Regions from separate parts of the Homo sapiens genome. Here region 1 is linked to region 2. Evidence: promoter capture Hi-C in 16 types of primary human blood cells and fetal thymus (Javierre and others, 2016). All regions are on one chromosome and are shown on one strand. Each heading gives the region's core, a stretch centred on a gene start or on the middle of the fragment in contact. The rest is flanking DNA. Distances are from core to core; before and after follow the strand shown.

Region 1 (7,299 bases), core at 3,563-6,062, 200 kb before region 2:
AGGAGGGTAACATCAATTTCAGTTTCCTCTCATCTGAACTGACTCCATCATGACTGGAAGAAGTGAGACACATGCTTGTGTCTGAAGACTCACATTTCAGACTCATCACCTTGCGATATAGTAAAGGTATACAGAGCTTTATAGTATTGCCCAATCCTTTTCAAATTCATATAGCTCAAGGCTAAAAATGCACACAGAGATTGTTCTCTTAGAAATCACAGAGGCAGGCATGTGTGTAATGAACACATCTCTTCTCGAGGAATTCCCTCAGCCACACCTATTTCTTCATAAGAACAAATCAGTCCAGAGCAGAAGACGATTAGAATCAAGCCACAAGGACACTGAGTACCGATATTGGGAAGAGGAAAATAATTCCTAATATAACGCTTTGTTTAGAAGCTTTAAAATGAGACACACAGCAAATCTGCTCACTGTGTCAATGTGGTCCAGTGGAAAGTACAGCCTGTTCGAAGTCAGACGAGCCACCTTCTAGCAACTGGCTGTTCGTGAAATGACCCGCAAGTCACAAGTTCTACGACCCTGGGCAAATCGCCTGGCTTTCCCAAGCCCCGGGTTTCTTGTTTCTTTGTTGGAAGAGGAGGAACAATGAAGTTAAGGGTTGTCATGAAGCAGAATGAAATAATGTAGTTTATGATAGATTAAAAACAATGATATGCTTAATACATGTAATGTTCTTTCTAGGGGGAGTAATTGTAACTTTCCTAAAATCATTTGAGATTAACATAATAAAAGTCCCTTATATCATGAATTATTTTCATGGAATTTATATGTACTGTGGTAAAATATAACTGCTTTTACTCTGTTAAAGGTGTGTTGGGACACGCATAGCCCACAGTTCTGTGTCTTACTTCTAATCCTCAACTTGGGTATTAAAGTGTCTCTTGCAAATGACAGTGCTTTGACTTTTTAAATAATTTTTTAAACCAATGAGTCACTTGAGAACAATCAAAGTTGCATGTGTAAACTTTAACTTTCTCTTCTGATACTTGGACTTCATTAAGTTCATAAATGGGGACTTAGGAACAAAGTGAAATATTAACTTTGCGGGAACTTCAAAGTGATTGTGTATAAGGAGAGAGAAAACCAACAGGGGCATTTATAAACTATCATCATAAGACCCGGCCAGACATTTTTTTATTGCAAAATGAGTAATGCCAGTTCTGCAACCTGGTCCAGAGGCCATGAAAACAAACCAATGTAGCCCTGACAGTTTCATTTCCATTAACGGCAATGGGAATTATTCAGGGAACAAAATCCTTCTTCTTCCCACAGTTGATCCAGGACCCCACCCACCCACCCCTACAAATTCTTATAGGCCAAGCCTTTAATTCTGAAAGACTACAAATGGAACTTTGACCTTTCCTTCTTCAGAGTCTACAGGTTCCCAACTGCTCATCTGTTGTACCAATGATCTGAGAGATACCCCTTCCAACAGAGGGCTCTCGTGGCCACATCCAATGCTGCAAAAGGGGCCATGTTTCATCCCATTCTGTTAAAAAAGTTTCCCGGAAATATCACAAGTTGCTGAGAATCTGGTTTACCAGGTTCATTAAGACTCTTTAGTGTCCTGGCGCGGTGGCTCACGCCTGTAATCCCAGCACTTTGGGAAGCCAAGGTGGGCGGATCACGAGGTCAAGAGATTGAGACCGTTGTGGCCAACATGGTGAAACCTGTCTCTACTAAAAATACAAAAATTAGCTGGGTGTGGTGGTGTGAGCCCGTAGTCTCAGCTACTTGGGAGGCTGAGGTAGAAGAATCACTTGAACCCGGGAGATGAAGGTTGCAGTCAGCCAAGATGGCACCACTGCACTCCAGCCTGGAAACAGAGGGAGACTCCGTCTCCCAAAAAAAAAAAAAAAAAAAAAAAAAAAAGACTCTTTAGCAGAGCGCCTTAATCTTACTGAAATGCATTTAACTGTAAGAGGTCTACATATATATATGTTGTGGAGCCAGGAGGTAAAGGATGACGGCTGCATTCCAGCAGTGGCTTCTGGGTTATTTCCCATGTCTGCCTGGTAAACAAGATGCTACATTCCTACCCATTTCAGTAAACACTAGAGGTCCCCTTTTTCTGATTTAACACCACCATTTTAAAGAAGGGTAGTGTGGATTATTGGATTAAAATTAAAATGAACCTGAACTTGAATAGCTAAGCTTCCTCAGTAATGGTGACAAGTAAGGTGAGTGGGAATGAAGGACAGCAGAGGTGGCAGGGAGCTGACAGGTGGGTTCCAGTTCTTGTGGGGATGATAGCAGCTGCCGACTTAAATGCAGCACCAACATCTGCTTACCCAGCTCAAAGGCAAGGCAGCAATGAACTGCCAGCAGTACTGGAACATCCAGAGACGGGGGCGGGCTGAAGGGCAGCTCCGCGAGAAGCTCAGATCAGGCCTCAGGACTCAGCTTCTCTCTCCCCATCTCCAGGCTCTACTTTCTCCAGGCTCCATTCTCAGGCTCTATCGGGTGGCGGGAAGCCTTCAGCAGCCCAGGCTCTACTTCCTGCCTAATTGAGCCAAGCAGAAAGAGGGTGAAAGGCCTGGCTCCTGGAACTCACGGTAAAAGTCTGTTGTCTTCCCCTGGCTCTGACTTGACCACATGGTCACCCTTGAACCAACCACCCTAGCCAGGGACACGGGGTCCTTCGGCTTGGCCTTGAATCACAAATCCACCTCTGGGATTAGTGGGCAGATATGACTCCACCAGAAGCTCCTACACTGAGGTGGCTCTGGGTGGCAAAAATGACAGCTACTCACTCTGGGGGTGGGGTGGGGAGACTGCCACATCCTGATGAAATAGACACAAAGATGGTAGCTGGAGAAGCCCAGGAGAGGTAACAAAGAGGGTGATACCCAGTACGAGGCCAAAGAAGGAAAATAATAGGCTCTGCTAAAATTGTGTTTCCTCCTTCCAACCCTCCTTGTTCAATGTCACTTTGAGCTTTGAGTCTTGGTATTTCCTCTGTACGGAGAAGAGAATGAGACCCAGTCGGTGGCTCCTCATTGGCCATATATATCAGAATTGCACCTGCAGAACTGTTTCCTGATGACACAGGCCCTAGGCTTGTGTTGAAGTCTAAATTTAGGTTTGTGTACTTGGTGTGTAGTTGATGTTAAATAGTGATACACAGGTGTTTGGAGATAGAGAAATGTTTATTTGATCTGATTAAAGTAAGAAGGTGGGGAAGGCAAGATTTTAAAAATTTGTTTTAATAAAAAGTAGAAATGGGGAATTTTTAATGTGGCTAGGGAGTAAGGGAGGAGAGTTTAGGGATTTGAGGAGGAAAGTCTGTGTTTTTAAAGTTTTAGATAATATTTTAAATAACTAGAGCATTATATGTAACAGTCATTCTTTAAAAACTTCTCAAATTTATAAATCAAAAGTTCAACTTTTACTATGTCTCACTACTTTCAACTTTTTCTCCCCTTACAAAGGTCTAAAATAATAACACTCTCCTTCAACTTTTTCATCAACTCCTATAACTTTTTCCCTCCAGTTTCTTCAAAAACAAAAATACAAAAAAAGACAAACTCCCCTAATTAGAAAAACAAATCAAAAAAGTCAAGTATAATCTCACATCCCATACTCAACAAAATACCCAATTTAGGTGAGGGGCTAAGACTCCTCAAACAAGAGTCTCTATTTCAACGCTTACCAATTAAAAAACTAAGTGCCAATAGATGACCCACAGACATAATGCAAATATACTCTCCATTTCTCACCTCAAACCTATTTAATTAAAAAAAAACCTTTAATCAAGAGAACCCTAAATACTTATCCAAATTATTGTCTTTTATCTTTTTAACATATCATCCCACCTAGACTAATAAACAAACATTAATATTTTACTCACAGCCAAAAACCACCATATAATTACTAAAAAGACAAAAACAGCTCAATTTCACCTTAAAAATGAAAGTAATCACCCTAAATCTACCAACACTGTTCCTACGATTAAGCCCAACTAAAATATAAACAAGACACTACCCTGTTTTAAACATTATAAAAATTTTCTTCCAGAATAAATTATTTAAAAGTCCCATGATTAAAAAGCCTCGATGAAATTAAAAACATTCAACAACCCCAGAGGGATCCCTAAAATTAAAACTCATATAGACTCAGCCTGTTGTCCCCCCACCGCCTAGTGAGAGCCACTGGGAAGAGCTCTGAGGTCGTGCTCAGGGCAGGCGCTTGGTGGGTCAGGTCCAGAAGAATGCCTCCTCATCATAGCCTGCCCAGTCCCCATAGGTGTACAGCAGTCCCAGGTGACAGCATCATTTACCTCCTGCAGTCAAAGGTGATAAAAGTGGTGGGACAATTCCTCTCAAACACCACTCTGGAGATGTCAAAATATAAACATCTTGAAAAGCTGGGCTCTTCATCAAACTGTGGCCCACCAATGTTTGGGGATCCCCAAGATCCCTTTAGAGAGTCCATGATGTCAAAACTGATTTTATTACAGTAATTGCCTTCTGTGATTGACATTGCAACTAACCTTTAAGAAACTACCACTTGTTGAATTGTGGTCTAGTATATATTTTAAAGCCCACATTTACCTGAAAAGGCTATAAGAACACTCCTCTTTTTTCCAACTACACATCTGTGTGAGGCCAGACTTCTTCCTATACTTCAAATAAAACAATATATCCCAGGTTGAATACAGGAGCAGATGTGAGAAGCCAGCTGTCTTCTTTTAAGCCAGACACTAAAGAGATTTACAAAAATGTAAAAACAATGCCAATATTCTCATCACTTTTTTATTTGGAAAACAGTGTTATTTTTCACAAAAATATGTTATTCATACTAACACATAATAGGTTTATTACTATTATGTTGAAAGAATTAATAAATATTTTAGATTTTTCTATTTTACTTTCTAATACCATAAATATCAAGATTTAACCCACATTAACAGAAGCTCTTTGGGGTCCTCAGTAACTTTAAAGAGTATAGAGGGGTCCTGAGGCCGAGAAGTTTGAGCACTTTTGGACTAGAATTAGATTCCTGGGATGATTTTTACAAGTCCTAGGCCCGCAGAGCTGCCCACGTGCTTATGCAGAGAAGGAGCACAGGCTACAGAACAGACACCCCAAGCCACTGTGTAGCCTGATCTGTGCTATAAAACTTGAGGAAAGTGGGATGACTCAATGGATTCATTGCTGAAAAATTTGTTCTTGCACATTTTCACATCCGTTAGGTTTGGTCCTTTGTGTCATCAGCATGTAACTCTCCTTTCAGCCACAAGATGGCACTATTTGCATAGAAAATACTTTCTCGGGAGCCGTGTCTCTAAATTAGCTGTTTCCTAGAGAGATTTTGGATGGGGACAAGGAGGGTTTGGCGTTTGGCCCATCATATCCCTCCATACGCTGAATGTATTAGGATGACTTTCCTCTTCCGTTCCTCTTTGAAAACACCGATATTGAGGAACTGGTAAAAAGAGATTCTTTCTAATATCCACCCAAAGAAACCACTAGCTGACCCCTGAGAGAGGGACTAACTTTTCCTTGCCCCTTCATTAAATTCTTTAATCCCACTTCAGTTAATTGTTTCCCATCATTTATATTTCAGGCAATAATCTCGGGAAAGGAGTCATGGAAAGGGAGCAAAGCCAAACCCTGAACCAGCACAGGTAACTGTAGCCACCAGAGTTAACTGTGTGAAGAATGTTTCCCCAGAGGACTTCTCACGTGTTGTGTAAAAGTAGAGAAAGAAGGCTAGGGTCTAATTTACAACATAAAAGAGCCTCAGGAATATAAGAGGCATGGGAAGAAGTGAGACAGGTGTCCTTGAAAGAAAATGCTCCAAAATGTCTGATCACCTTTACTCTCGTCTCCCCTTCCATCTAACCCAGGTTCTCAAGCCCTGCACTTGACAATCACCTGAGGAGCCAAAAAAGACCGACAGGTGCCTTTCACCAGTGAAGACTTTGATTCCATAGGCAGGTGGGGTCAAACATGGGCATTTTTAATATATATTTTTTAATTTAATTTATTTTTTTTTTTTGATACTGAGTCTCACTCCGCCGTCCAGGCTGGAGTGCAGTGGTGTGATCTGGGCTCACTACAACCTCCGCCTTCTGAGTTCGGGTGATTCTCCTGTCTCAGCCTCCAGAGTAGCTGGGATTACAGGCATGTGCCACAGTGCCTGGCTAATTTTTTTGTATTTTTAGTAGAGATGGGGTTTCACCATGTTGGCCAGGCTGGTCTTGAACTCCTGACCTCAAGTGATCCGCCAGCCTCTGCCACCCAAAGTGCTGGGATTACAGGCATGAGCCACCAAGCCCGGCCATGGGCATTTTTTTAAAAGCTCCCAGAGTGAGTCCAACCTTCAGTCAGTTTGAGAACCACCAAGCCAACCAAATCAGCAATTGCTCAGACTGAGTGATAAATCCCAAATCATTAGGGAATTCTGGTTTAAAACAATGCTTGGCAAAACCCAGTCTCATGAGCGGATGTAATCTAAGTTAAATCCATTCTCACTGCATCCTATCCCACCCCATTTTATGACTGCGTGCAAGGGCAGCAAGTCGGCTGGTCAGCATCATCAGGGTACCTGTCACCTACTATAATAGCTAAGTTATGCTCATCTTCATTTACCCTTGAATCCTGAGAAAAGACTGGGTATGTCAGTTACATGTTATTTCCAAAGAACCTCCTGCAGAGAAAATCTATAGGTTCTTTAGACCCTGTAATGCAAGTGATCTTTTCCAGCTCCATAATGCTTTCTGCATTAACAATTCAGGTTCTTTCTTTGGCAAATGAATGCACGCCTCTGCTTGGTGAAGGACAATGGGTAACACTATGTTTGAATCTACTGTCCTGAATGAAGTCACCAAGCCTCTCCACCCCCTAGGACCAAGACCCCCTCCACAGTGGCACAGTTGTGGATCCCATCCAAAAAAAAGGCCTCAACAATCTTAACTCTAAGATAGCTGCTGAAAAGCATCCTTTTCTATCCAAGCCTCCTTGGTGTCACTGAAATACTTTCTAAGCTATTGAGCCGGGTGCCTCAGTTTCCTGTCCTGCAAAACAGAAGGGTTGCATGAGATGGTCTCCACGATTCCCCTGCTTCTCCAGACTCCTGCTGCTCCTGATGCTACAAGGAGTTGGTGGCCAGATCTTAGCCCAGTGAAGGAAGGAGCACGTGCTGAGAGACGGTGCGGGAGATGCTGAGGCACCCTCTTGGTGAATTTGAGATACGCTGTTCCTTAGGGTGAATGTGGGGCAATGTGTTACATTTTAAAAGTCACCCATCCATTTTTCATTCAATCAGTGCTTG
Region 2 (7,299 bases), core at 3,152-5,651:
ACTGTATCCTCCATCAAATTGACTGGATAGGCATAATGGAAGCCAGAACACATGGTTTCCATACAAGAAAAATCCTATCAGGGAGGGGAGGAGGGGAGAGGAAGGATTCAGCCACTACCCAGAGTGAAACTGAGTAATATCAATTTCACTCATCTTCACACATCTTCAGGTTGCGTGTTCGTGGAGTAGTTTAGGAATAAATCCATGGTTTGTGGAGTACTAAAATACCTAGTCATTTGCTTATTACATTAAGGCCTTCCCCTGCAGCTTCCAAGGCAGCCTCCAAGTCACTGGAAGGTGAATTTGGCTGGAACTGCATGCAGGACTGCAGAGATTCCTCTCCACAGTTATAGAAGGGACTGTTCCAGGCCTGATTGTTCCAGGACTGGGTGCACCAGGTCTGAGTGTTCCAGGAGTGGTTGCTCCAGCACTAGATGTTCTGGGTCTGGTTGCTCCAGGATGAATTGTTCCAGGTCTGGTTGCTCCACATTGGAAGGTTCCCAGTCAGGTCACCAGTCATCCCTGGTGGTAGGAAGAGTAGTGGCTGGGGTAGGTAGGTGCTGAGGCCTTCCGAGTCACACCATTGCTATTCTTCGGCCAGTTGTTTTTCTGCCACCTCTTAGATTTCATTCTCTGGTTCTAGAACCAGGTCTTCACCTGTTTGTAGCTGAGGTTCCAGATATTGGAGAGTTCTTGCATCTGCTGGAGGCTAAGGTATTTCTGTCTCTGAAATCTATCATTGAGTACACACAGCTGGGTGGAAGAAAACACAGTTCTGGTCTTCTGTTTCTTGACTGGGACCTCGTCTCCCTTTTTTGGGGCATTATTCTCTGCAGCAATGGGTTGTTTGCCTTTGGGACTGGTGGAAGAATCAGGGCTGTCCTGAATAAGCAGATCCATGGAGGAAGAAGAGGAGAGACAGTCTCCGTGTGAGGCATCTCAGCAGAAGACATTTGCAAGGATGGATAGTTTTCTTCAGGCCCACAAATCACAGCCATAGGTTAAGATTCTTTACAGTCGGATGCTTCGAAGCAAGGCAAGCTTTGCAGACAAGCCAGATCCACACTCATGTTAGTATTGAGGAAGAGGGGGAAAAAATTTAAGAGGTGGACTGGAAAAAAGGTTAAGGCAGCTTTAAGACTTTTCTGGAAGATGTTAGAGAAATATGACTTCCAGAAGCAAAAGTATCAAGAAGTTGGGATGAAGTGAGTTGCCTCCACAATAGCAGGAGGTAACTAGCTCAGTCCAGCCCAGCATTCTTTTTTTAAAAAAGAGTCCCTATCTTTTAGAGATACCATCTGAAATATTTACAGATGAAATGATGCCAAGCCTGGGATTTGCTTCAAAATAATCCTGGGTATGGGATGGAGTGGAAGTGAAACCAGGCTATGATGCGATCATTGTTGAAGTTGGATGGTAAGAGGTTCGTTATAGTTTTCTCTTTACTCTAAATATATTTGAAATGTTCTTTATAAAAAGTTATTAAAATATACATTTGTAATAAAAGCCCACTGTAGGGAAAGACGAAACTTTTAAATGATCATTCAATAAAATAGTGCTACGCAGTGTAGCAAGTTAAAAAAATTAACAAAATCTCCTTGAACATTATGATTAAATAGTACTATGGGCCTATAGGGTGTTCTGTATACCGCAACCATGCCTTGAGCAGGCTAACTGAATCTGCTACATCTTTGGAGTTCTGGACCAATTTCTAATCTGTTTTCCAAAGTGCCCATCACCACTCTAGAGTGGATTCTGAAATCAACTTGTGGGCCCTGATAGTTTTTAGATAAATGAAGAGAAATACAATAGAAAAGACAGTCTCAGAGCACATCATATATAACAGGATGAACTCTCTTTGTGGAACTTCTGTTTCTGTGTGTGTGTGTGTGTGTGTGTGTGTGTGTGTGTGTGTGTGTGCCAACATGCAGCATTTGTGTTTAGTCTAATCTCAACATAATAGCCAGAATGGATCTGTTAAAACCTCAGTCAGGGCCGGGCGCGGTGGCTCACGCCTGTAATCCCAGCACTTTGGGAGGCTGAGGCAGGCGGATCACGAGGTCAGGAGATCGAGACCATCCCGGCTAACATGGTGAAACCCCATCTCTACTAAAAAAAAAAAAATACAAAAAATTAGCTGGGCATGGTGGCAGGCGCCTTTAGTCCCAGCTCCTCAGGAGGCTGAGGCAGGAGAATGGCGTGAACCCGGGAGGCGGAGCTTGCAGTGAGCCGAGATCGCGCCACTGCACTCCAGCCTGGGCGATAGAGCGAGACTCCGTCTCAACAACAACAACAACAACAAAAAAAAAAACAAAACACCTAAGTCAGATCATGCCACTGTCTTCTAGAACCCTCCAGGGACAACCTATCTCAGTGTAAAAGCCAAAGTCCTTAGGGCGGCCTACGAGGCCCTCCATGATCCGCCTCCTCCTCCCTGCCAGTCCTATTTACCCCTTTCTCACTCTACTGGCCTTGTTTCTGTTCCTGGAACACACCAGGTACACTCTCGCATTGGGACTCTGCAGCTGCGGTTCCTTCTGTCTGGAATGTACTTTCTCCAAATATCTGCATGGCTGGCTCCCTCACCATCAAGTGTCACCTTCTCAGTAAAGCCTTCTCTGACCACTAAACTTAACACTCAGACCCCCTTACCCCCAGCATTTCCTGTCTCCCTTCCTGCTTTATTTTTCTCCATAGAACTTATCACCCTCTAATATACCATATAAATTAATAATTAGATATAATTATATATATAAGATACACATTTATATATACAAATTATATATAGTTCCTTTGGTTTATTGTCTGTCTGTATTTAGAAATTCCACAAGGTCCAGAATTTTTGTCTGTTTTGTTCATTGCAGTATCTCTAAAATCTGGAACATGGTAAATAATAAGTACATATGGAATGAAGTATTGGTGTGTGCACGGTGTGTGTGTGGGGTGTGTGTGTGTGCCTGTGTGTGTACGTGCTGGGTTTCATAGTGTAGGTCACATTCCAAAAGGCTTGTATGATACCGCCTTGGAGCATACTTGGACTACCTCTGGGCTTACTAAGAGTGAAGACTGAAAAGCAATTACGGTACAGACACCCAACAGTCCTCATGTCTTACAGGCTGGGTGCCTGGAACAAATGATGCCACTGGTAATTGCTATTTGAAATATGTGTATATGTGAGTGTAACTGATTTACACACAAGAGGGTTGTTCCCTTGGGGGACCACCAAGGCACCATAAATTGGCAAGAGGAAACAGGCAGATCAGAAAAATCATAAAATTTTAAGACCCTCAGAGATGATCTGGGCCAAACTAATAATTCTACACATAAGCATCAAAGTCACAAAATGATAACATAATTTGCCCCTGGACACACAAAAAGTAAATGCTGAGAAAGAACTACCATAGACTTAGGTCACGTGACCCCTCATCCAGTGATCTTTACGCACCCTGGCCCATCACAAAACTGAAAAACAGGAATCTGCTCTCCAAAACCCTCTGCCTGTTCCCTTTTCCTTGGGAATAACCTGAAATTATTTCTCCAATTAGGCACCAATACATTTATTCCACTGGACTTGACCGTTTGTAGGAATCTCTGTTTTAAAAACAAAGAACTGCTAATGATCACTATTTCTCATAAATGAAAGCCTTAAAAATTCCCTCCCATAGCAAGCGGCAGTGGGCTGAATCATCTACTATTATTCCCTGCCTTTCTAATAATATAGTTCCAACTTACATCAGGCGCAGGGATGTTAAAGCCTGTCAAGAATCAAAACCTTCAACCCTCACTGTCCTACTTCTCATTAGAGCTAAAGACTCTATCCAGTTTTAAATTAATGGATTTATATTTTTTTCATAACCATAAAACAAAGTGCTTCAAACCATAAAGCACTAACAAGTGAAAACAACATATGAGTTGTCAGTCATCTTAATGTAGTAGGTTAGCAGAACATTTTTTTCAGGGAGTGATATTATTACTAAGTGAATAGTTGCACTAATTGCTTGGCTCTCAACTAAGACTATAATAAGCTTTTTGACTATGAGAGGCCATGCGTCTTGGAATTCTCAGTGTTTTGTTGGTGGCCTTAGAGACTCTAAGGGCTGAGGACATTCATGACATAATTGTGGCGGATGTTCTTGGTTCCCTCTTCCCCCTTAACAGAACCCTGTTCCGTTCAGGCCTCCTCACCCCTTCAGGAGAGGCTGGACCATCTGCACTCCAGGAAGGGGGTCACAACTGGACTAAGTACATCCAGGGAATCCTATTCCCTTGCCAGTGATTGGTTCACACCTAAGCATATGACAAAGCTGTAGCCAATGAGGCAAGGGGAACTTTGCTGGGGGGTGGGGGTGGGGCAGGTGTGTCTGAGAAAGTCTTTTTTATCTTCCACAGGGTGAGGAGGAAGAGATTTCCCCTTCTCTGTTTCAGATATGATCCCAGGGGACTGCTATTGTCATCTTGACCCTGTAAAGACAGTGAGGCTGAGGACAAGGCCCCCCGACCAAGAGGGCAGCGCTAAGAGAAGGAGACAGAGCCAGATACTGCAGTGTCTACAACCACGGTACCTCAGCACTTTGTTTTAGAGTTTTCTGTATTTGCGGTGAAACGTCCTAATCCTTACAATAATTGCATCCTGGAATGGTCTGGTCAGGATGTGAGGAGGTGTGAATGTGTTATATGTGTTGGTGTTAGCATGAGAAAAGTTTGAGTGAACAGCAGGTCCCAGGAACAGTGAGTCTTTTGTTAGAGATGGCTTAGCCCGTGACATTAGAAAGCAGGAGGAGCAAAGTCTAAAATCTGATATGTCAGGGGAACCGCAGAGGCCAGCGCAAGGCACAATATCATCCCCACGTGTGCTGCTGTCATAGGGTGCCCAGGGTGGCCAGATTTCACCTGAGGGAAGACACAGAACAACAGAGTCACTGTAGCCCGTGCCCACTTCCTCTAGGGGTTGCCAGGAAAACACTCTGAATGAGACCTTAAGGAAGAAGTTCTAGTACTTGCTTTGTCTTCACACTCCCGTGAAGGGGCATTTATTTGTATTTTGTGGGGGTGCCTGTCTCAGGTGTCCTATGGGAAAAAGGAGGAAAGGCCATGAACAACTTGAAGGGGAGCCAGCCATCCTATACATTCACGCAGGCCATTGGATACTGAAGCCTGCCCAAAAAGTGGCTACCCAGGGACTCAGTTCCCCAAAGACGTCTGTCTTTAGCTTCATTAATTCCATGACAGGGCCAATCTTCCTCCAATTAACAGAAAGTTTATCTACCTAGAGGAGTCTCTATACTTGGGAGGAAGAAGAGGACTTTTGCAACAACCTGGCACTCAAAACCAGCAAGTATTAAAAAATGTTCATTGACTAGGTTCCTTACAGTGAACAATACATGGTTCTAGAAAATTTACTATTTATAATCACTCATATTTTCCATGTGATCTGATCAAATGCATTTTTTCTTTACTTGTGTGGGGTAAAAGTAAATACTGTCAGAACCTCTGTGACAGCTACAAGCGTGTAAAATTTAAGTCTTTCTAACAAAGTCTTTGTAGTACAATACCGTGATCTGTTGTGATCAAAGGGTGTCGGTTCTTTGATTAGAAACAACAAAAGAGCCAGCAGATGATATCCTTGGAAACGTCTGTACAAGCATCCATCTAAGTGGGGGCATATGGAGGCAGCCACAGACACATCACTGTGCGAATAATACTCAGGAGCATCAGGCACACAGTAGAGAAACTTGCTTCCTGGATGACTCACACTCTACTTCGAGGCCATAGAGTTGTGGCCAGAGTTTAAAAAGCTGGATAAAAAGCTAATTAACTAGTCATAAGAAATGCACTAATTGCTTTGTCCAGCATTAGCAGAGGGGACCTACTGCTCTCCCTCATTCTTCAGTGAGAAGGAGGGTGCCATGGCCTTTTGGGGATACTGGGGAAGGGAGGCATTTATCTAGTGGAGGCTGAACTAACCAGCCCTAGAGAGCAAGTCTCTATGGAACTATCTGAGAAGGTCAGGGGCTGGCTGCAGAAAAAGATGAATGTGGAAATGAAAAGGGGAAGAGAAGGGGCACCCCCATGTATTGAGCAAGTTATCAGTGAGTAGGGATTGAAATGCCTCCCATCTGATTGCAAGCATCCTGTCCAGGAAGGCCTTAACCTATGGGTTTGTATTTTCTGTTTGCTCACGTTATGACTGATTCACCTTCTCTTTCTTACAATATCAATTTCTATGCTTTCTTAAAGTAATGGCTTTATTGAGCTATAAATCGCACACCCTACAATTTACCTGTTTAAAAGCAAACAATTCAATGACTTTTAGTTTATTCACAGATATGTGTAACTATTAAGTATTACCACAATCAAATTTAGAACAATTTCGTTACCACAAAAAGAACTCATACCTATTAGCAGTCACTCCCCATTTCACTCCAAACCTCTCAGCCGCAGGGGACAACTCATCTACTTTCTGTCTCTAGGATTTGCCTATCTTGAGTGTTCCATATGCGTGGAATCATATAGTATGCAGTCTTTCACTTCTTTCACTTAACATACTGTTTTCCAGGCTCATCCCTGGTGTAGCATGTATACAGCATCGCTTTTTGAGAATCTCCCTGTGGCTCTCCATGTTGAACTCTAGCTTTACTACTTATGTTTCTTCAGTGTTCACTATTCACTCCTGAAATGTGCTTGTGAACCACAAATCAAGGTAAAAAGTCCTGATTCAGATAAATTCATGTGATTCTGCTCAGAGTCTCCTGTTGCAAGTACATGCAAATAAGTTAAAAAAAAAATTTCTAGGCCAGGCGCGGTGGCTCACACTTGTAATCCCAGCACTCTGGGAGGCCGATGCAGGTGGATCACGAGGTCAGGAGTTTGAGACCAGCCTGGCCAACATGGTGAAACCTTGTCTCTACTAAAAATACAAAAATTAGCTGGGTGTGGTGGCACGCACCTGTAATCCCAGCTACTCAGGAGGCTGAGGCAGGAGAAATCCTTGAACCCAGGAAGCGCAGGGTGCAGTGAGCTAAGATCATGCCACTGCACTCCAGCCTGGGCGATAGAGTTTTTTCCATCTTGGGGGAAAAAAATTTTTTTCTAAAAGTTACTGAAGGCCTGTGACTAATGTGAACTGGTGACAGGGTCCTTGCAGAACTGATTTACAAACAAGAGATAAAGGAGGGAAGGGGCTACAGTTGCACTCCTATGACAGTAACTGAGTGCTTGTATATGTCAGACACTGTGCTAGGCACTGGAGATCCAGCAGTGAACAAAACAAAAATAGCTGCCCTTGTGAAGCCGGTATTT

The links. The method cuts DNA at HindIII sites, captures the fragments that hold promoters and counts their contacts. A CHiCAGO score of 5 or more calls a contact.
Region 1: a contact is called between a fragment that was not itself captured here and the fragment with the promoter of CHN2-AS1 in region 2, in 6 of 17 cell types (total CD8 T cells, naive CD8 T cells, M2 macrophages and 3 more). The highest score is 9.6, in total CD8 T cells.

The regions. Positions count from the first base shown.
Region 1 is chr7:29,406,915-29,414,213 of GRCh38, reverse strand. All of the region lies in intron 6 of CHN2 (chimerin 2), which reads right to left. Among named protein-coding and RNA genes, the nearest start is that of PRR15-DT, 150 kb to the left of the region's middle. The HindIII fragment of the contact is 5,269 bases long and covers 2,178-7,299 here.
Region 2 is chr7:29,206,072-29,213,370 of GRCh38, reverse strand. CHN2-AS1 (CHN2 antisense RNA 1) reads left to right here and starts at 4,401. Exons shown (of 3, transcript NR_120522.1): 1 at 4,401-4,558. All of the region lies in intron 1 of CHN2 (chimerin 2), which reads right to left. It also overlaps the pseudogene NANOGP4. The HindIII fragment of the contact is 4,492 bases long and covers 4,028-7,299 here.